Regions from separate parts of the Homo sapiens genome. Here all the other regions are linked to region 5. Evidence: promoter capture Hi-C in human tissues and cell types (Jung and others, 2019). All regions are on one chromosome and are shown on one strand. The core of a region is centred on a gene start or on the middle of the fragment in contact, and the rest is flanking DNA. Distances in the headings are between cores, read along the strand shown.

Region 1 (2,700 bases), core at 92-2,591, 460 kb after region 5:
ATTTTAAAAATTATAATAAGAAAATATTGACAAAAATTAAAAGGAATATGAAGGGAAGAAAAATTCAGAAATCAGAGGAGGGAAAGTTAAAGCATACTGAAGTCATTGTATTTCTTAATAAAACAAATAAAATAAGAGTAAATTTGGACTGTATTAGAAATTTTATATTGATGTGTATGTCTTCAAAAGCTAAAGAAACCTTTGAAGGAATAGAAAGGTAATCTATAGTTGCCAAGCCAGAAGAATGAATGAACCAAAGAAAACTAAATCGATCCAGTAAAAGACAGAAATAACGGGAAGAATTTTTTTAAAAATAAGGTTAACAGAAAACACAAAAAAGAGTTGATACTTATAATCAAACAATGTTAGTATGGACTCCCAAGCAGACCTGAGACAAGAACTTGGGCCCAGGTAGTTTATTTGAGTGATGATTCCAACAAGCATGGTGAGAAAGGGGAAATGTGATCAACCTAATTAAGGTGCACCAATGAGCGGGTTAGCACTTGGGGCACCTGTGGCTCAGTCCCCAGAGGGTCCCTCTGAAACCGTGAGAAACAAACTGCAGCATCGCCCATCAGATTGGGGAGGCATTCATGCACCGACTCACCATGGTTGCCTCTGTGTGGCTCCCTATGAAACCTCCTGATTTCACAATAAACTTGTCCATGGCACAGCAAGTTTCTGCAGCACCTGAGAATGTCCCCAAGCAAAAAGGAGGGCTGACTCCACCACTGTAGAAAGAGATGTCAGAACCTGCATGCAGGAGAACTCACGTGGGCAGAAGGGATGGACAGCAGCAGCAGTACTTGCTACAGCCCATACCAGGACTGAAGCTGCCTACTGAAAGACAGACTGCCAGATTGATTTAAAAGAAATAGCCATATGCTGTTCACAAGACACTCCTAACAAAATGACACGAAGTTACAAATGATGGGGCTGGCAAAAAAAAAAAAAAATACACTGGAGAAAAATCCTCAAACCTGGATGTAGGAATATGCACAATGGTGCTTGCTGGAGCAATGACTGTAATGGCAGCAAATCAAATATCATTACCTCCACCAAAAGGGGAAGAGCTAAAGGCATTGCAGGATAGTCATATAATGGACAATACACATCATCTATACCCAGAGTATAAAAATTAATTGGGAAAATCAAGTAGAAACACTGTGCCAATCTCATCTGGTCAACAGGACTTAGAAATGGTAGAACTGAACATGTATATAGATAATTTATATTTCAACCTGACTTCTAATATCATTTAACATTTTGGAACTCTGCATACACTACAAATTTATGACTAAATATATTACTAATAAATTTTCCCTTCAAGTGATTTGCCATCAAAAGTTTTTCAATAAGAAACAGAAAACTTTTTAAAAAGATATTAGTAGTCTTTTATTTAAGAATTATATACACAAAGATGTTCACTGTCTTTACTAATAGTTAAAACTTAAAAATTCTACATAACTAAATGGTTGCATGTTTTCAAGGGATGGCAGCTATGAAAATGAAGCTTATTATAAGGGGAAAGTTTATGAAATAATGTGCACAATATGATTCTAATTACATTTACAGAGAGACAAAGATGGAAATTTAAAGTAGTAAAGTCAACCTAGGATGAAGGAAAAGAATTCAATGATGGGCATAGAAACAGATTAAACACATTGATAAACCTAAAAACCTACCATTTCCCATAGCACCAAAAAAGAAATACGAGTTTTACATAAGCAGAAGATTTGCAAGATTTCTATGCTGAAAACCACAAAACACCAAAGTAGGAAAAAGTTCCTGAATAACTGGAAAGATACACCATATTCATTGATTAGAAGGTTCAATTTTCTTGTCAGTTCTTTCCCAAATTTATCTTTAGATTCAATGCAATCTCAATCAAAAATGCAGCAGCAGAATTTTTGTTGAAATTCATAAGTTGATTATAAAATTTATACATAAAGACAAAATAACTAGAATGGTAAACACAATTTTGAAAAATAAAGAAGAACCACTTTTAAAACTCACCATGTCCTGATTTCAAGACTTACTATAAAGCTACTTTGATCATGATAATGTGGTATTAATGAAAGGGTAGACACACAAATCAATGGAAAAGAATAGAGGGTACTAAGACAGAGCCCACACAGACATAAACAAATGATTTTCAACAAAGTTGCAAGGATAATTTCATGAGGAAAGAATACTCTCTGCAACAAACAGTGTTAGAACAATTGGGCATCTATATGCAAATAAATAAACAAAGCTGACCTATGCGTTGCTCCATTTATAAACACTAACTCAAAATTTAAACCTAAAACTATACAATTCTTACAAGAAAATGCAGGAGAGAAAATATTTGTGACTTTAGGAAAAGATTTCTTATACAATTCATAGAAATTAAACAACTTGCGTCTGAATCACTTTCAGGTAAATAATGAAATTAAGGTAGAAATCAAGAAGTCCTTTGAAACTAATGAGAACAAAGATACAACATACCACAATCTTTGAGACACACCTAAGACAATAAGGCAGTGTTAAGAGGAAAATTAATAGCACTAAATGCCCACATCAAAAAGTTAGATAAATTGGCTGCTAGCTAGACTAATAAAGAAGAGAAGATTCAAATAAATACAATTAGAAATGGCAAAGTAGATGATACCATTGACCCCAAAGAAATACAAATAACCATCAGAGACTATGACAAACAAC
Region 2 (2,773 bases), core at 81-2,580, 440 kb before region 5:
ACAGATCATCCCATCACCCAGGTAGTAAGCCCAGCATCCATTAACTATTCTTCCTGATCTTCTCTCTCTTCCCACGTCCCGTCCTCTGACAGGCCCCAGTGTGTGTTGCCCACCCCCCATGTGTCCCTATGTTTTTATCATTTAGCCCTCACTTGTAAGTAAGAACATGCGGGATTTGGTTTTCTGTTTCTGTGTTAATTTTTTAAGGATAATGGCCTCCAGCTCCATCCATGTCCCTGAAAAGGATGTGATCTCATTCCTTTTTATGGCTGCATAGTATTCTGTGGTGTATATGTACCACATTTTCTTTATCCAGTCTATCATTGATGGGCATTTAGGTTGACTCCATATCTTTGCTATTGTGAGTAGTACTACGTTGAACATACGTGTGCATGTGTCTTTATAATGGAATGATTTCTATTCCTTTGGGTATATACTCAGTAATGGGATTGCTGGGTTGAATGGTATTTCTGCCTCTAGGTCTTTGAGGAGTCGCCACACTGTCTTCCACAATGGTTGAATTCATTTACACTCCCACCAACAGTGTAGAAGCATTCCTTTTTCTCCACAACCTCACCAGCATCTGTTGTTTTTTGACTTTTCAATATCCATTCTGACTGGAATGAGATGGTATCTCATCGTGGTTTTGATTTGCGTTTCTCTAATGATCAGTGATGTTGAGCTTTTTTTCATGTTTGTTGGCCACATGTGTGTCTATTGAGAAGTGTCTGTTCATGTCCTTTGCCCAATTTTTAACGGGGTTTTTTTTTCTTGTAAATTTGTTTCTTGTAGATGCTGGATATTAGACCTTTGTCAGATACATTGGTTGCAAAAATTTTCTCCCATTCTGTAGGTTGTCTGTTTATGCAGTTCGTAGTTTCTTTTGCTGTGCAGAGCTCTGAAGTTTAATTAGATACTATATGTCAATTTTTGCTTTGTTGCAATTCAGCCGGATTGGTTCCTTCTAGGGGCTGTGAGGGAAGGCTCTGTTCCAGGCCTCTCTCCTTGGCTTGTTGACGGCCATCTTCTCCCAGTGTCTCTTCACATCACCTTCCCTCTGAATGTTCATGTCCAAATTTCTCCTTTCAATAAGGACATCAGTCATATTAGCTCGGGGGTCTACCCTACTCCAGTATGACCTCACCATAATTGATTATATCTTCAATTACCTTATTCCAAATAAGGTCACATTCAGAGTTCCTGGGGATTAGGACTTCAACATGTGAATGCTTGGAGGACACAAGTCAGCTGACCACATCCAGTGAGGTTGTTCGGCAGTGGTTCTAAGTACAGCAGTGTGGTGCAGTCTCCCATCTCACCTTCAGTCACCTGCACTTCCTACCCTCAGCCCAAGCAATTGCCCATCATTCATTCTTTTCTGCTACTGTACTTTGTGCACACCTCTCTTATTCCATTTATATTTTTCTGTGGTTCATAACTAATGGGTTAATTTCTCTTCTCAGTCTGTGGTCTCTTTTAAGGTAGGGACTCCCCATTTCTGTCCTGGAGCCTGGCATAGTGTCTTGCACAATAGTAGGCCTAATGTGCTGTGGAGGTTGAAAACTGGAGGCCTCCACTCTACCCACAGCATCTGCCCAGGCCGCCTGTGGACCAGAGCAATTTCTCAGGATCAGGGGTGGAGGTCACTGTGAGGGAAACTGAGGGTAGGTGATCAAGCACCATGACCAGGCTAAGGCCATGCTACATTTTAACAATATTCAAAACACAAAGGGAGAGATCACAAGGTGAAAAATGGATATTTTGTTTTGCTTTTTTTTTAAAGGAACATCATCTGTGAAATAGAGACAATTCCTTGAGGGATTTTAATGGCAAAATTTCAGTAATTTCAGAAGCTCTGTCTTGTGATAGCATCTAAATCCCAACTGGTTTTTATTAGTATCATCTTGCTTCAAGCCATACGAGAATAAAAGAAAAAAAAAGAAAGATTAATAATTAAAATCCTGGGAAAAGACAGATTTCCAGTTTGATTAGTTATTGAAAATGGATAGTCACATTTCAAAGCGAGGCTGCCTGCCTGCTGATGAATTTATTTTTTTTGGTCCTTATTTTTCAATGATAGAAAAATTCACTTTTACTCTGGAAAGTTCTGAATATGCAAAATCTGCACAAAAATAAGCTTCCTAAGACTCTGATCACTCCACACCCACAAGCAGTGAGATTCCTAGTAAACACTAAGATGTAGAAGACTGTTGGCAACTAATCCAGGGATTGTGAGGCAGGCATGGCTGCTCATAGTGGTTACTTTTATAGTGTTTCAGGAGACCTGATTAGAATGAGAAGAAATAGGCATTTTCTCTGTAAAGTTGCATATTACACTGGGCTTCTTCAATATAGGGAACAAAATGAATGAACATATCCTTTCTCATTCTGATAACAGTAATTGCATTCTCATTCTATTCTTAAGTCCATTCTTCCTTCTTCAGAGTTTTTCTCCCAGGATAATCCAAGCACCCCAGTGGGGGCTCACTCAGTTCAGGAGGGTTGGACCTGATTAAAAGCACTGTGCAGAAGAAAATACAAGACCAGGCAGCCACTGGAGGATCTATTTTCCCTGCTGTTCGTGCCATCCACTCTGAGGGGGCTGTCCCTCAGACCTGGGTGATATGGTTTGGCTGTGTCGCCACCCAAATCTCATATTGAATTGTAACTCCCACAATTCCCATGTGTCGTGGGAGGAACCCAGTACAAGGTGATTGAATTATTGGGGTGGGTCTTTCCTGTGCTGTTACTGCGTTAGTGAATGAGTCTCATG
Region 3 (2,700 bases), core at 126-2,625, 300 kb after region 5:
ACAATCAGGAAAGTCTCTTTGTTACAGCTTTTAGACAAGGAGAAGGGGCAGTCAGCACAACAAGAGGCATGGCTTGGTGGGGCCCGCAAGTATTACGAGGGTTTGCATGAACAAGTCAGCCAACACAAACCACGGAGCTTGCATCTCGTACCCAGTCCTAGGCTAGAGGCTGATGCTGGGAATTGGAGAAAAATACAGCTGATGGTCTTTAGCCCGAGGGAGTGCACCAGTTCACAGGTGAAGGGGTTTCCAAGGTGACTGTGAGTGACGGACATGGAATTCCAATCAGAGGAGTTCTGTTTACATCTCAGGGGAGCTGAATGTTGAAGTTCTGTTGTACTATACTTATAATATTTTATACTGTTGCTATAAAATCTATTTATTACTAATTAGAATATTATTTTAAACATCTATAACCTGTGGAGATCCTGCATGAGCTATTAAAATTATTAACTCTGTTTTAAAATAGAATTTTTAGTTACTGGGACATCAATAAACAGCTTCTTAACTGCTGGTAACCTGAGCAATAAAAAGCTAAAATAAATAAATATAATCTAACAATTAAAGAAGATAAAGGAGACAGAGCACTCGTTTAAGAACACTTTACCTATTTATAATTATTTTCATCAGACAGATTGTCAGATTTTTTGTGGTCAGATTTGTTTTTAAGAAATTGGATTTAAGTGGAGTCTCAGCCTCTACCACCAGTGTTGTCAGGCATGTATTTACGTGTGTATCTGCATGTGTAGGTGTATATGTGTGTATGTGTATCTGTGTATGTGTGCATTGTGTATGTATATGTGTAAGTGGGCATATGTGTGTGCATCTGTGTGATAATGGGTATATGTGTCTCTGTGTTGGTATGCATGCATGTGTATGTACGCATGTGTGTGCATGTGTATTTGTATGTGTGTACATGTGTGTCAATGTCTGTGTGCATGTGTGTATGCACATGTGTGATTGTTGTGTGTGTGTTTGTGTGTGGGTATGCATGCATGCATATATGCATGTGTGTATGCCTGGGTACCTGTGTACATTTGCATATGTCTGTGTCAATGTGTGTGTATGTGTGTGTATGTATATGTGTCAATGTGTGTATGTGTGTGCACATGCAGTTCTCTGCACTGTGATCCCATATGTGACCACCACCACAATCAGAATACAGAACTGTTATGTCACCAAAAAAGGCATTCCTCAGTGCTGTCCTTATAAAGTTGCACCAACCCTCAACTGTGTCCCTGTCCCCTGGCAACCACTAAGTGGTCTCCTAGTTAGATTTGATCTTAACTATCCTATTTGGCCCACCACACTGCCTTGGTCTTGATAGAAAATCTCAGCTAGAGACTGCTTAGCATCCAGATGAATTAAACATTAAAGAAAAATCAAAGTGAGACAGGGTAACCATCTAGAAAACTAAAGAAGGTAACTCATTTACTTTGCTGTTCTTTTCCTTTTTTTCTGGTAGAATACATTTTGGTTGCTCTTTTCTGTAAGTGCAGAAGGTAAGCTCTTCAAAGAAAATGTAAAAGGAAAAGGTCAATTTATAGAAAAATATAACAGTACAATTTCATTTAAATTACAAACAAATATATTCTTCAATGCTTTAGCAAAACACCTATCTTAAGGATGATAACAAACATTATTCTCATAACTTAACAAGAGTTTCATAATGTCATTATTCTCCCAATTGTTAGAAAAAACTCCAAATTCTGATCTGACCCTCAAGTCATTCTTATCAAAATCACTTCTTACCATTTTCAAATAACTACATAAGAAGTTCCTAAGGGATGTTTCAGCATTTGTAAACCAAAGAACCAGCTTGAAACATCTGGATATTTGTAATTAAGTTTATAGTTTTAAAAGTGTTTTCACGCAACTGTTTGGCAAGCTTACATTTCTGAAATATAATTATTCTTATATAATATTTAGATGGTGGTTATATGGTTACTATGTATATGTACAATAATAATATAGAACACATTTATGTTAATGTTATATAACACATATTTAAATATAACTTATATTACGTAGTACTAATGTGTATATTTTATATATAATACAAATATGTAATATGTCATTATTAAATACAGTACAAGTATATATAGTGCTATGTGTAGCACTTACTATATATTATTATTTATATATTTTTATATGTAATATGAGCCATTCACAACATACGAATTTGAGAACATTGCTGTATATTTGCATTTTGCATTTGACATGTGAAAGGATATTCAGGTAATCAGCTTTGCAAAGTGACACCAAAGGCATTTAACAGGAGAACAGACCTTGCATTTTCCACAGGGTACTGAGCACCTGAGTGTGCAATTAGTATGCGTTCATTCAGCTTTTTGATTGGGTCTGTTGGGGCCACATCTTACTGCTTTCTGGATTCAAATAATGTCCAATCACAGTGCCTATTAGGTGTGTAATGAATGGACAAGTTGGATAAATGGTGGTTAAAATATTTCTGCTGAAATGAAAAACAATTCAGTCTAAAGATTGGCGGGGTGCTTTCTCCTGTAAAAGCCTTGAGGTTTCCAGTGCAATGTGAAAGGGGTAGTGACACATTTGTCACTTGTCACTGTCCTTGGTGCTGACCATGGCTCATTCTGCTGGTCCCAACACTAACGCCTAGCAAAGATGTTTTATTTGGGCCCATTTTCTAATAGAAACTGTTGCTCCTTGCAACTGTTCTGG
Region 4 (2,903 bases), core at 47-2,546, 460 kb before region 5:
AGCCTTCTCGTAAAGGACAGCAGTTCATAGGCTTCAGATGGTCACTTCTCTTCTCTTTACGAAGGGAACTGCAGTTTACCAGAGGGGAAGGACAGTTCGGAAGCCTTCCGTGCTCGCAGACCAGGTGTCTGGGTGTGGCATGCTTTCTTTACTTACCATGGAGGCACTGCAAGTTGGAATGATGGAAGTTATGAGTTGCACAGATGTCTAATGTCTTAACTCAAGGGTTTTCTTCACAGTCTGGATTGAAGGATCTCTGCCACCTATCATAAGGGGAAAGAGAAAGCATGCATGGTTCTTGTCATACCCCAGATAACTTCAGAACCCATTCTGTGGTTTAGCGTTATTGAGCTTTCTTAATTTAAGGCTGACTTGATTGATCATAAAGCCAATTGAATTAAAATTCTCACCATTGTTTGGTTGTGGTCATTACTTTGCAGCCTTCAGTCCAATTGATCAATGCAAGGTGGAAGGAATCAAAGCAAAGCAAAGGAATGAATACAGGAAGATAGTGTTTGTGAGGGTATCACACGAGGAATTTTTCCTTTCTTCTCTCACCAGATGTTGAAATTAAATTAGATGAAGAAGGATTTGTATTGCCATCCACAGCTAATGAAGATATCCATAAAAGGTACAGGAAAATGTTGTGTTTTTCACATTACAAGACTCGTTGAGGCTAATAAGCAGCGGTATCTTTTTCTCAAGAAGGTGAAAAAAATAGATATGATTCTGGAAATTAAAATACTACATTTCAGAATACCATGTTGGGAAATTCCTTGTAATATTTTATAAACATTAATATTAATAAGATCAAATTCATGATTCATTTGAAAATAATATTGGCACATAGTAATAGCCAAATCCCAAATAAACTTTGGCAACTAAAATATATAATAAATATTTTGGATTATTTAAAAAATTAAGTATTTTTCTCCTTTTTTATTTTTCAGGATAGCACTGTGTATTGATGGTCCAAAAAGGTTTTGCTCCAATAGCAAACACTTACTGGGGAAAGAAGCTATTAAACAAAGACACCTACAGTTACTCGGTTATCAAGTTGTTCAGGTACGGTTTCACCTATTTTTTTTGTTTCCCAAAAGCAAATCCTATTTCAAAATTATTTTTCCAGGTTACTTTTAAAAAGTAATCTGAGGCACAGTAAAATTTTAAAGAATTTGATCAGGCAGCAATTATTGAACTGGACAGCACAAAACTCGAAATGGCTTGGGAACCCAAGAGGGAGGCTTTTATAGGAAGAACACAAGTACACAAAGAATCTACTTGACTGGTTACAGTTACATATTCTTGCTGCCTTGTTTGAACTATTCTGTGGAAAGTTCCTAGTTATATAATTATTAGTTTGTGAGATGCTTCTGATTGGTTGAGCTTAAGTTCTGTTTTTCTGTAGTAGAAGCTTCTACAAGAAATAGCCCAAGTTAAATTTTGCTTAACATTTGCACTTTAAGCAAAGTTAAGGTTATTTTCAAGGCCCAACTGGCTTGGTCTGCTCAGGGATTTTTCAGGCACAGGCTCCATTTTAATTTGCTTTTACAGTACTAACTGGTTTGCCAGCCCAGTGGACCACCGATCTTACGTCTAGTTTAAATCCCAACGTTGTTAATTCGGCTTAAATCTCTTGACTTATATTTTGAAATACAGAATTTTCAGAGCTTTGATTTTTCAAAAGTGGGGCCTACCTATATTCATTATAAGCTATGCTTAACCCTGCTTTTAGAATTACTCAATTGTTGGAATATATGTTCTGTTTTAATTTCTCCTTGATTTAATAAATAAAAATGAACAAGATAATCCATTAAAATAAGGAGCTTCACCAACACTTAATATTTAAGACCTTTTAAATATTTCACTGTAGATAATGTAAGAAGGTCTTATGTGAGGGCTCAGCAGTGCGTGAGAATGAGCGCTGCCCTAATTCTCTAAGCTGTCAGTACTAGGCAGCACTGTGGTTTCATATCTGCTGACTTTTTTCTCCATCTTGCACATCCCCAGCTGAATATTCCTAAAACTAATCATGCCAGTGTCTACTCAGAAGCTTCAATGTTTCTTTACTGCTTACAGAATAAAGTAAAAACTTCTCTACATCTTAACATTCAAGACCCTCCAATGGTTGGCCTGCAGCCAGGCTGCAGGCACATGATTACTACCTGGCCCCTCTGCTCCCAGCTGAGCAGACTCTCTCCTTTGCTGCGCCTCCTGCTCTCTCCCTCTTCATTCCCTCTTTGTCCCTGCTGCGTCCTCCAGCTCTCTGAATACCTACCTTCCAGCAGTTTGTCGGCATCCCCACCCTCATCTAATGAAATGCTCACTCCCTCTTAGCACTAGATCACCAACCTACAGCTTGTTTTTTATATTTATTGTGTAATTTAACTTGCCACCCAAGTTGTGAACTCCTGGAGAACAAGAGATCATGTTTAATTCTTATTTGCATATTCTACATATTAATTCATCAAATATTTACCAAGCCCCTTCTCAGTGCCAGGCACTGTTCTAGACATTGGGGATACAGGATGAAGAAGCTGGTTGGGATATTTGCCTTCCAGGAGCTTACATTCCGCTGTGGGGAAGCGTGTAAGAAACAAACAAAGTAACCAATAGCCAGAGGAACCTCAGATTTTGAAGGATCTTGACCAGTTTTACTTTTCTACCTTTACAGATCCCCTATCATGAGATTGGGATGCTAAAATCAAGACGTGAATTGGTGGAATATTTACAAAGAAAACTGTTTTCTCAAAACACTGTTCATTGGTTGCAAGAATGAATACTGACTTCAGAACTCAAACAATGGAAGAACTTGCATTTTTATGGAACTCAGTATTAAAAGAAAAATATAATGTGAATTAGCCACTTTGCAGAATATGTTCTAGACTGGTGATCTGAAAGCA
Region 5 (2,971 bases), core at 109-2,608:
ATTCACAGATCAACCACTGACTAAAAAAAAAAAAAAAAAAAAAAAAAAAACTCACTGGTGGATAATCAATGCCTCGCACAAAATCTGCACATGCATGTCACAGGCAGTGCAAAAGTTTGAACCACACACTCAGAGATCAGTAACAGGAAGTTATCGCCATCTACAGACTTCCCCTCACTTTTCAAGGGAGCGAGCCAAGGATTTCTGCTTGAAAAATATAAACTGGCAAAACTGACATCAGCTGTTGAGCTGCATTATACTCCTCGTGATGAAATCCACTTTAATAACCTGTCCAAAACCCTAAACACGTTACTTCTTTAGAAACGGGAAAGCAATCGTCCGTCCCAAACGCTTCTTAACTGTAGTCTCTGAGATGAAAGATTGATTCACAAGTCAACACCACATCACTTTCCGTCTATCGGGCTAAAGAGCTAAATGCATACAGATTTAAAGGCAAAGATGTATACTTAATTTTTCTTCTTCATTTTCCTTGTCATTAACCACTTTCCCAAGGCAGGCTTTCTGCAGAGTTGAATAACGCCCAATCCCAACTAAAATGCCAACTGTGGGGCCATGCCAGTGGAACCGGGCAGGAGACAGCGACTCGCCCAGGAAGCCCAGGGCTGAGTCGGGGAAGACCTATTCCAGCGCTGCGGGCAGCGGTGCCCGGCGGAAAGCGCAGAGTTTGCCAGCGGGTGCGCAAAGATGCAAAAAGCACACGCCCTGCCCGTCCACCTGGTGAACACCTCGGGAACTTTATTTTGGGAAGAGCCTTCCCAGGAAACTTTTCTCCCGCCCGCAGCCCTTGCCAGAGTCCACCGGGCCGCGGGCCAGCAGGAGAAGCAGGGAGCCGCGGGCCGAGGGGCTGCCGCGGGCCGAGGGGCTGCCGCGGGCCGAGGGGCAGCCCGGAGCGGGACGCGGCTCGGCTGGCCGGGCTCCTCTCAGGGCCGGGGAAGGCGCGGCGCTGGACCCGCGGGGAGGCCACTCACCAGCCCGAGCGCGAAGAAGACGGCGAGCAGGGCGAGGCAGGAGCCCATGACGATGAGCAGCAGGAAGACGATGAGCGGGTGCTGCTGGCTCATGCAGTAGTAGGACTCGTAGAGCCAGTCCCGGGACCGCGGCAGCCCGTCTCCGCCGCCCGCCGCCTCCTCGGAGCGGTCCCGCAGGTAGCGGCGGCGCCGCATCGCCTCCTGCCACATCGGGGCCGCTCACAGGGCGCCCGCCGTGCGCGCCCGGCCCGGGCAGCGCCGCTCGCCGCGGCCGCCCGCGTCCCACCCCCGCGCCGCCTCGGCCGGCCCGGCTGCCGGCACCCGGAGCTGCGCGCAGGGGCCTCCGGCGCGGGCGGAGCTCGGCGCCCCGGGCTGGGCGCGCTGACGCGCGGGCGGGGGCCGGGCGGCGGCCTCGGGGGCAGCTCCCGGCGCCGCCGCCGCCACCGCCACCGCGCGGGAGGGGGCGGGTTCCACGGGGCCCTCCGCCCGCCGCTCCCCGCCCCGCGCGCAGCCGGCCTCCGTGCAGGGGCGGTGTCGGCCCCCACCCGACGGCCCGGCTGCAGGCTGGGGACGGCGGGGGCTGTACGGTGGGGGGAGTGGCGAACTGAGGGGCTCCCGCTGCGCCCCGGCCCGGGGTCGTCCTCGCCCGCCGGCCTCCCACACTCAGCCACCAGGTCGTCCACCTCCTCTGCCCTATCCCGAGTGCAGCGTGGGTGGGGTGGGAGGGACGGCCCTCCCCGCTACGAAGTGAGAACACAGCCTAAGGGGTGGAGGGAGGGAGTCCTACCCCCACCACTCCCCCCGCCCCACCTGGCTCGGAGCACTGCGGGGCTCCTCAGCTCCTCTCCACTACCTCAAGGTCAGCGGGCAGGGACGCTGCCACCCTCCTGTTTCCTCCACCCCTTAGTGGGCTGCGGGGCCTGCTCCCACCCTCCCCCACAGTCACAGAGCGCAGCCGGGGTCAGAGGACCCGGGGGGTCCCTCCTTTAGTACGCGGGTCAGAGGACAGCGGGGTCTCCCTCCTTTTCACTCTTTTGGGGAGCTGGAGAGGATTTCCCACCCTTCCCGCCTCCCCGCGGTGGGCACCGGTTTGCCGTCCAGCCCTTCTTCCCCTCAGCGTAGCAGGGTTGAGGGCTCCCCCATCCTCTCCACCCTCTTGAGAGGGCCGGGGCTCCCTGCGAGGGCGGCAGGGCGCGGAAACGCCAGGGGACCTAACTGGAGACCGGCACCATGTGGAAGTGAAGCGGCAGTGACTGCACTGGGAGCCCCCGCCACGGCCTCGCGGGGGCAGCGTCCGTTGCGCCCTGCACGCTCAGCTTCAGTCACACTTTGGAGGTGCCGTATAAGCCTGTCATATCACAGGTTTACAGAGCTGCCCCGTGGCTGGTCGTGGTCCTCGCCGAGCCCCTCTGCTGAGCGGGGATGGCGGCAAAGGGGCGCCGGGGAGAGCGGCTGGGCGCGGGAGCGGGCGGGTCGGCCCTGGGAGTAGCTCCCTCCCTGTCACCTTGGGGGCCTGGACGCAGGAGGCGCTAGAGACCCGGCAGGAGCGTTGTGGGGGCGGATGTCACCAGGGACAGTGTCCCCTCCCGACACGCGTGGGAGCGGAGGCCGCTGGCCTTCGCCCTGGGGGCCGAAGGGGCTTCATTGCTTATCACCAAAGGAACCCACCCTTCTGGAAGTTTCCTCCTATTCGAGTGTGGTCCGGCCCAAAGAGCCCCCAAATCCCACCTCCTCCCCCAAAGCCTTACCCCAAGGAATCCAAGGCACAAGAGCCCTCCCTTCTCCTGCCACCAGCGAGCATCCCAGAGGGCAGCCCCAGAGGGCTGTTCCATGCACTTTTCATCTCTTCCAGGAGATGACCAGCTCTCAGGACTCAGCCTTGTCACCACCTAAGACCTCAGAACCTTCTCGAATGGCCCCATGCCCCGCCTCCCTGGCTGTCCTGTCCTCCTCGCTGGCAGAGGGCATGTAAGCTAGGTAGC
Region 6 (2,760 bases), core at 72-2,571, 480 kb before region 5:
GGCATAAGTTGTGTCTGTTCCCAAACCAGACTGAGATACACTTACTGCAATTATCTCACTTAAACAATTCACAAAATAATGAAGTACAAGTGCAAAAACAATAGCCCATAGTTGTTTATACACAAAATCATACTTACATGAAAGCTTTAGAAAGACATTATAAAAGATGCTAAAAAAAATTGCTATCATACCAGGTGTTTACAAACAGTGCTAATATACAAGAAAGATGCTGCATCCAAATTATTTCTTAAATGTCTAAATCTGTCTTCATTAAAAAAAACAAGAAATTAAAACTGGTAATAGCTGCAGTAAGGGTGTGGTTTTTGTAAGAAAAGTCCATGTGGAACTCCAAACAGCCACTCAACAGAAAGAGGGCTTAGCCCTGCATTCAAAGACTGCCTGCTCTGGAAACTTATTTTAAGCAGGTTAGAAAAACTTCAGGGTACCATACACTGCCTGTGGGGAGAAATTAGCTATTATGCAATGTGATACTCAACTCACTGCCCACACAACTCATCTCTGTTTGACTCATCTAAAATGAGAAACCAAGTTGTTAGTTCTCCAAAATAATGATGAAACTGAGTTCTTATCTACTTCTTCAAATACAGAAGTAATAATACAAGACCTTTTGTAATACCTGGGTGGGAAAACTTTTACTGGAAGGGGCCAAATGCCTTAGGCATTGCAGGCCCCTGTGGTAACCACTAACTCTGCTATTGCAGCTCAAAAGCTGTCATAGACACTACCTAAATGAATAGGCATGGCTGTGTTCCAGTAAAATCTATTTACAAAAGAAAGGCTCTGGGCCACATTGGGCCAGTAAGCCATAGTTTGTTGACCTCTCTTCTAATGTAATAATAATTTAAAAGCCCAAAGCAAACATCCATGATTAAATAGCATCTATAGCATAAAGAAAAACTTCCTTACCTGGCCAAGAGACTCCTGCAGATGTACCTGTAAATATTCTGGGGGTAAACCAGGAATATTCAGAGAGGCTTGTGAGAGTGGGGGTACCGAACGGGTAAGTGAGGACTCAAAGTCTTCAATTACAACATTGGATTGGTTGCTGTTCACTGCATTTTGCTTCAAAACCTCAGAATCCTTTCTTCCTGAATCATCGAATCTCAGAAGCTCGACTTGAGATTCAATGTGTAGCAGCTCTGACTTCACAAGGTCTGTCCTCGAGGATGCAGGTGATGCCACCGGGAGTGCGCCACTTATCTCCTCTTGTCCTCTGCTTGACCTAAAATGCTTTCTGAGGGCTGGCCAGAGTCCAGCAATCCACGGCTCAACCACAAGTTCTAAACTGGACAGTAAAAACAAACGAAAAACAAAACAAATGCCTAAGTTCTCCATCTGAACACAGAACAGGATAATGACAGTCTGTCCATTTGGCAAAGTATGCACTTGTTAGAAACACTATGAAGACCATTCGGAATACAAAAAATACTTCATGATTAAGTTTTAACAAGCAGGATATATTATGTGTTCATTAGCACCGTAGCTGAAAACATGAGTATGTATAAAGGTAGAAGAAATGAAGAGGGATAGGAAGATATTCTAGTAATAGGATGACAGGAATAGAATTCCTCCTAATATTCCAGAATTGGTAAACTTTATTTTAAGAAGATATAATTTTAAATAGGCATACTAATGCTAACAGAACTTAACCAAAATCCAAGGCTACCATAATGCTGCAAATGCTCATTCCATCCATCAAATGCACCTTTTTTTTTTTTTTTTTTTGCCTAGCCAATTTACTGATCTACTGATCTGTTTCCTACAGATTAAAATATCACCAAGAAATCACTATGGATTAATGCCAAGTCCTTGGACTAAATAAATAGTTAAAGCCTTTATTTATTTTTTTATTTTAGTAAAATTCCCAGGGAGGCTGACAACAGGAGAAAAAAAAAGCAACCCTCCTTTGGGAAAGTTGAATTCATCATAAATAGATTTTTTAAATGTGGCAGTCCACCTACTACTAACAAATTATCATAACAACAGCCATTCCCTGAACAGAGAAGTTTAAGTAGAGTCAGTGGATAAGACTGTGGCAGGGCTGTGGAAATAACACCACTTTTAATCACAGCTCAAAGGAGGATCAATTAAATTCTAATTCCTAAAGCGAAATGAATACCAAGAGGAGGCAGATTTCAGGCCCGTGTGTCATTATGACTCAGGTTGTCATTTCACTGTGCTCGGGAGGTGCTCATGTGGTACACTACTCAAAATGTGGTTACACATTAGAGCTGCCCTGAGGAGCCTTTGTGAAAACAAGTTTATAAAACTACAGTTCAACAATAACAGCTACATGTAAAATATCACTCTCACAACTCAGAAATATTAAGGTGATAGTGTGCACAACCAGGAGGAGAACTAACGTTCACTGAGTGTTTACTACATGACGACAGGCACTCTTCTAAGAGGACGACATGTATTAATCCGTTTGACCCTCCTACGAAGCTTACACAGTAAATAGATTACTGTTATCTATTGCACAGAGGCAAAAACCAAGGAACAAAAAGCTTAACTAATTCAACCAAGATCTCAGTCAGTAAGTGGGGGATCAAGGATTTGAACCCAGGTATTGGACTCAAGTGTGCATTCGTAACCCCATTTAGTGTGGTGGCACATCAAGCAAGAATGTCTTGAAAATATCTTCATTTCAGAAAAAGGAAAAATTCAAGTAAGGTAGTTAGGTTGAAAATCTAAGCACTATAGTCTACTGAAATATACAGTCAAGCATTTCAATACTTA
Region 7 (2,783 bases), core at 119-2,618, 390 kb before region 5:
TTACCTGTGATCAATAGGAAAATCAGGTGCTGAAGAACCCACCAAATGTAGTAAACACCAGGAGAAGAGATAGGAAAGCCAGTGGGCCATGAGACTTGTTGTGTAGCCCTGGAAGGCCCACTGTGCCCTGAATATTTCCAGGAAGATGGGAGTGGTGATGTCTAGCACCTCATCTGCCACCTGGCACCTTCTTCTTAATGCCAACTTCAAATCCGCTACAGAAAAATACTGTTCCAAGGCTTCTCACTGCAGGTTGCTTTGTGTTCTGGTATCATCCAGGTTGAGCTTATCCATTAAGGAGTTCATCCATCTACAGGTGACCCCCACCTCTTTTGCGCATGCACTCCCATGCCTCAGTGAAAATGTCCTAAGAACAGGGGTTACACCTCTGAAAAAAAAAATCTCAGGACCCCAAACTCACTAAAAGTTAAGCTTGGGAACTGAGTCATGCAAGAAACTACCTGCTTTTTGTTCCCACACGGATGGCTGCAACATAGAAGGGCCACGGAGCACCCCAGGTGGCCTCCCTCACAACTGCTCAGGAAAAAATTCCTTGTGGGCCCTGAAATCTTTCAGAATAGACACCCCCCCAAAAAAAAACTGACCAGAAAACAGAGTTCTGTTGACTCTTATCCTGGCAATGCAAATTAATAGCTGATCTTCACAGGTACTGGACAAAGACAAGACCAGAAATCATCCCTCGGCTCAAGCAGAGGAAGGCATAATGGGCTTTTCCTGACTCCTCTCTTTTCATATGGAAAATGTGGTTTCAATGAGCACTAATCAAGCCTCACAAGAATGTAACCATCTCTTGTCTACCCCGTTTCTCTTTTTATTCCTTTTCCTCCTTCCCCTACTGTCCACTCTTTCCCCTTTCAGTATTGGAGTCTTCAAAACTCTCTTTGGGAAAAGCACAGGCCAGGAATCCTAGTGTAACTTGTGTTTCTTTTTCCTGGGCACCATCCTCAACCTTGGAAAATAAACTTCTAACTTGATTGAGACCTGTCTCAGACACTTCTTCGTTTACACATCTCAGACATCTGGGAAACACCACAGAAATGAGCGCAGGGCTTTGCGTACTGTGGATGCTCAGATACATGTTTCTCACGTTAAGTCCAAATGTAGACATATCTGCTTTCTCTTGCACTTCAGCAATATTAAAGACATCTCACAACATCTCTTCAAAACCCATTTCAATATTTAACTGACATTGTAGTCTTTGCAACTCTAGCTAATCCATTTGGATAAACACTCCATGAAATTCCCATTTCTATCCACTCTAATGGATGGACTCAAGTCTTTGGTCTGCTCTTGTGTAGATAACTCCTAAATCCTGTCACACTCACTGTGTATCTGATATCTTTGAAATTCTAAGAGCCTTGGAAGGCTGTCAGGGAAGCTGAGTGTGGGGAAACAGGGGGCGTGTGGGAGGCATGGTTTAACGTTGCCTCTTGGTTTGAGCCTCCATTGCGTGCTGGTAAGGCAGGCCTCCTCCCACAATGGGGAGAGAGCAGTGGCTTCTTTGGAGGCATATTTGGGATCCTAGTGCCTCATAAAAGACATTCAGAACTTTACATGATTGGGGAAAAAATCTCTAATAATGAATCCACCTCCAGACTCAGACTTTTAGAGGTCATTCTAACCCACTATTCTCAACGGATATCTCTACAACCAATCAATATCTCCTTGAAAACTGAACAATTCAAGCCAATCTTGGCCAATTTGAACACTCAGATGTGTGAAGTACTGCAGCCTTTATGTCACTGAAGAAGCTTTCAGCCCTCACCCAGGTCATCATGGCATCCAGCCCCCTCCCCCAGCCCCCAGCCCCCCTGGTCTGACCTCATTCTTCAGGCTCCTGGCCAGGAAGTGCTCAGCCACGTGCGCGGGAAGCACGTTCTCCAGCAGCACGCGGTTCAGGTTCTCCATGGTCTCTATCTCCTCCCGCTCTTTTTTGAATTTGTTCTTCCATAAGAAGTCTAACCTACAGTAATATTCATTCTGTTACAAGAGGACACAGAGGTAAAGAAACAATAGGCATCTTGTCCTGCCAGAGAGTGGAGGTTTTAAAGAGAAAACAAAAAGAACAAAATGAAACCGAAAAAAGAACCCCCAAACAGAACTTCCACCCTCCCCATAAAGCCCTCTGTGTCCCTGAAATGTCCTTCAGTCAACCTCTGACATGGATTTGCAAAAAACAAGAACCAGCCTCAGAAACAGGGAAATCAGCTATATGGAGGCTTAAATTCAAAGCGCCATTAAAGCTTCCTGCAAAGTTATGCTACTAAAAGAGGGCTCAAATTATTTTTTGAAAAGAGGCAATTGTAGAATATAAATGATGAATACATGAAAAATACCTCTGTAGAGAGAGTGCATTTTTTGATGATTTGAATAAAAACTGTATTGTTCGTTTATGGCAGTTTGCCTTTAGCATTTGTAAATTAGTTTTTCCCTAACACAAATTGTATAATTATGTAATCATTGCAAAATATGGATTTTTCTTCCACTTGGGATTGTGCTGTTCTGACAGAATGCCATTCGTTACATTTAGAGAAAAGTTCATTTTGATATTAATTAAGATAGTGCCTGTTAGTAAAAACCTGTGTTCATGCTTTATAATGTATTAAAATATAATGTATTTTAAAAGTAGTTATTACTAACATTGTAGGAATGGAGAGGCCCAATTACTGACAAAGAGTCTTTTGGGTCTTGGCATCATTTTGTGCCTCCTATGATGTAAATACTTTAATTTAATCATGAAATAGTCTTGAATGGATCTTCCT

The links. The method cuts DNA at HindIII sites, captures the fragments that hold promoters and counts their contacts. A contact is called where the count stands out against the background at its distance.
Region 1: a fragment that was not itself captured here is called in contact with the fragment with the promoter of ADCY2 in region 5 in 2 of the 25 tissues and cell types used here (heart left ventricle and mesendoderm cells).
Region 2: a contact is called between a fragment that was not itself captured here and the fragment with the promoter of ADCY2 in region 5, in 1 of the 25 tissues and cell types used here (dorsolateral prefrontal cortex).
Region 3: a contact is called between a fragment that was not itself captured here and the fragment with the promoter of ADCY2 in region 5, in 1 of the 25 tissues and cell types used here (dorsolateral prefrontal cortex).
Region 4: a fragment that was not itself captured here is called in contact with the fragment with the promoter of ADCY2 in region 5 in 1 of the 25 tissues and cell types used here (H1 embryonic stem cells).
Region 6: a contact is called between a fragment that was not itself captured here and the fragment with the promoter of ADCY2 in region 5, in 1 of the 25 tissues and cell types used here (hippocampus).
Region 7: a contact is called between a fragment that was not itself captured here and the fragment with the promoter of ADCY2 in region 5, in 2 of the 25 tissues and cell types used here (bladder and dorsolateral prefrontal cortex).

The regions. Positions count from the first base shown.
Region 1 is chr5:6,931,812-6,934,511 of GRCh38, reverse strand. No RefSeq gene overlaps it. Among named protein-coding and RNA genes, the nearest start is that of LINC02196, 100 kb to the left of the region's middle. The HindIII fragment of the contact is 4,609 bases long and covers 1-2,700 here.
Region 2 is chr5:7,839,139-7,841,911 of GRCh38, reverse strand. The region is part of intron 1 of CFAP90 (cilia and flagella associated protein 90); the gene reads left to right. Among named protein-coding and RNA genes, the nearest start is that of CFAP90, 11 kb to the left of the region's middle. The HindIII fragment of the contact is 6,768 bases long and covers 1-2,773 here.
Region 3 is chr5:7,094,722-7,097,421 of GRCh38, reverse strand. The region is part of intron 1 of LINC02196 (long intergenic non-protein coding RNA 2196); the gene reads right to left. Among named protein-coding and RNA genes, the nearest start is that of LINC02196, 60 kb to the right of the region's middle. The HindIII fragment of the contact is 3,716 bases long and covers 1-2,700 here.
Region 4 is chr5:7,859,311-7,862,213 of GRCh38, reverse strand. It overlaps FASTKD3 (FAST kinase domains 3), which reads left to right. Exons shown (of 7, transcript NM_024091.4): 5 at 562-631; 6 at 951-1,065; 7 at 2,675-2,903. The coding sequence ends at 2,779. It also overlaps a transcript of MTRR not described here. Among named protein-coding and RNA genes, the nearest start is that of FASTKD3, 8.3 kb to the left of the region's middle. The HindIII fragment of the contact is 6,566 bases long and covers 1-2,903 here.
Region 5 is chr5:7,394,525-7,397,495 of GRCh38, reverse strand. ADCY2 (adenylate cyclase 2) reads right to left here and starts at 1,358. Exons shown (of 25, transcript NM_020546.3): 1 at 990-1,358. The coding sequence starts at 1,199. LOC107986403 (a long non-coding RNA gene) reads left to right here and starts at 1,547. Exons shown (of 2, transcript XR_001742597.2): 1 at 1,547-2,971. RefSeq lists enhancers at 1,277-2,042, 2,043-2,808. The HindIII fragment of the contact is 8,449 bases long and covers 1-2,971 here.
Region 6 is chr5:7,876,490-7,879,249 of GRCh38, reverse strand. MTRR (5-methyltetrahydrofolate-homocysteine methyltransferase reductase) reads right to left here. Exons shown (of 15, transcript NM_002454.3): 5 at 928-1,306. Among named protein-coding and RNA genes, the nearest start is that of MTRR, 8.7 kb to the right of the region's middle. The HindIII fragment of the contact is 4,993 bases long and covers 1-2,760 here.
Region 7 is chr5:7,788,860-7,791,642 of GRCh38, reverse strand. It overlaps ADCY2 (adenylate cyclase 2), which reads right to left. Exons shown (of 25, transcript NM_020546.3): 20 at 1,843-2,001. Among named protein-coding and RNA genes, the nearest start is that of CFAP90, 61 kb to the left of the region's middle. The HindIII fragment of the contact is 4,487 bases long and covers 1-2,783 here.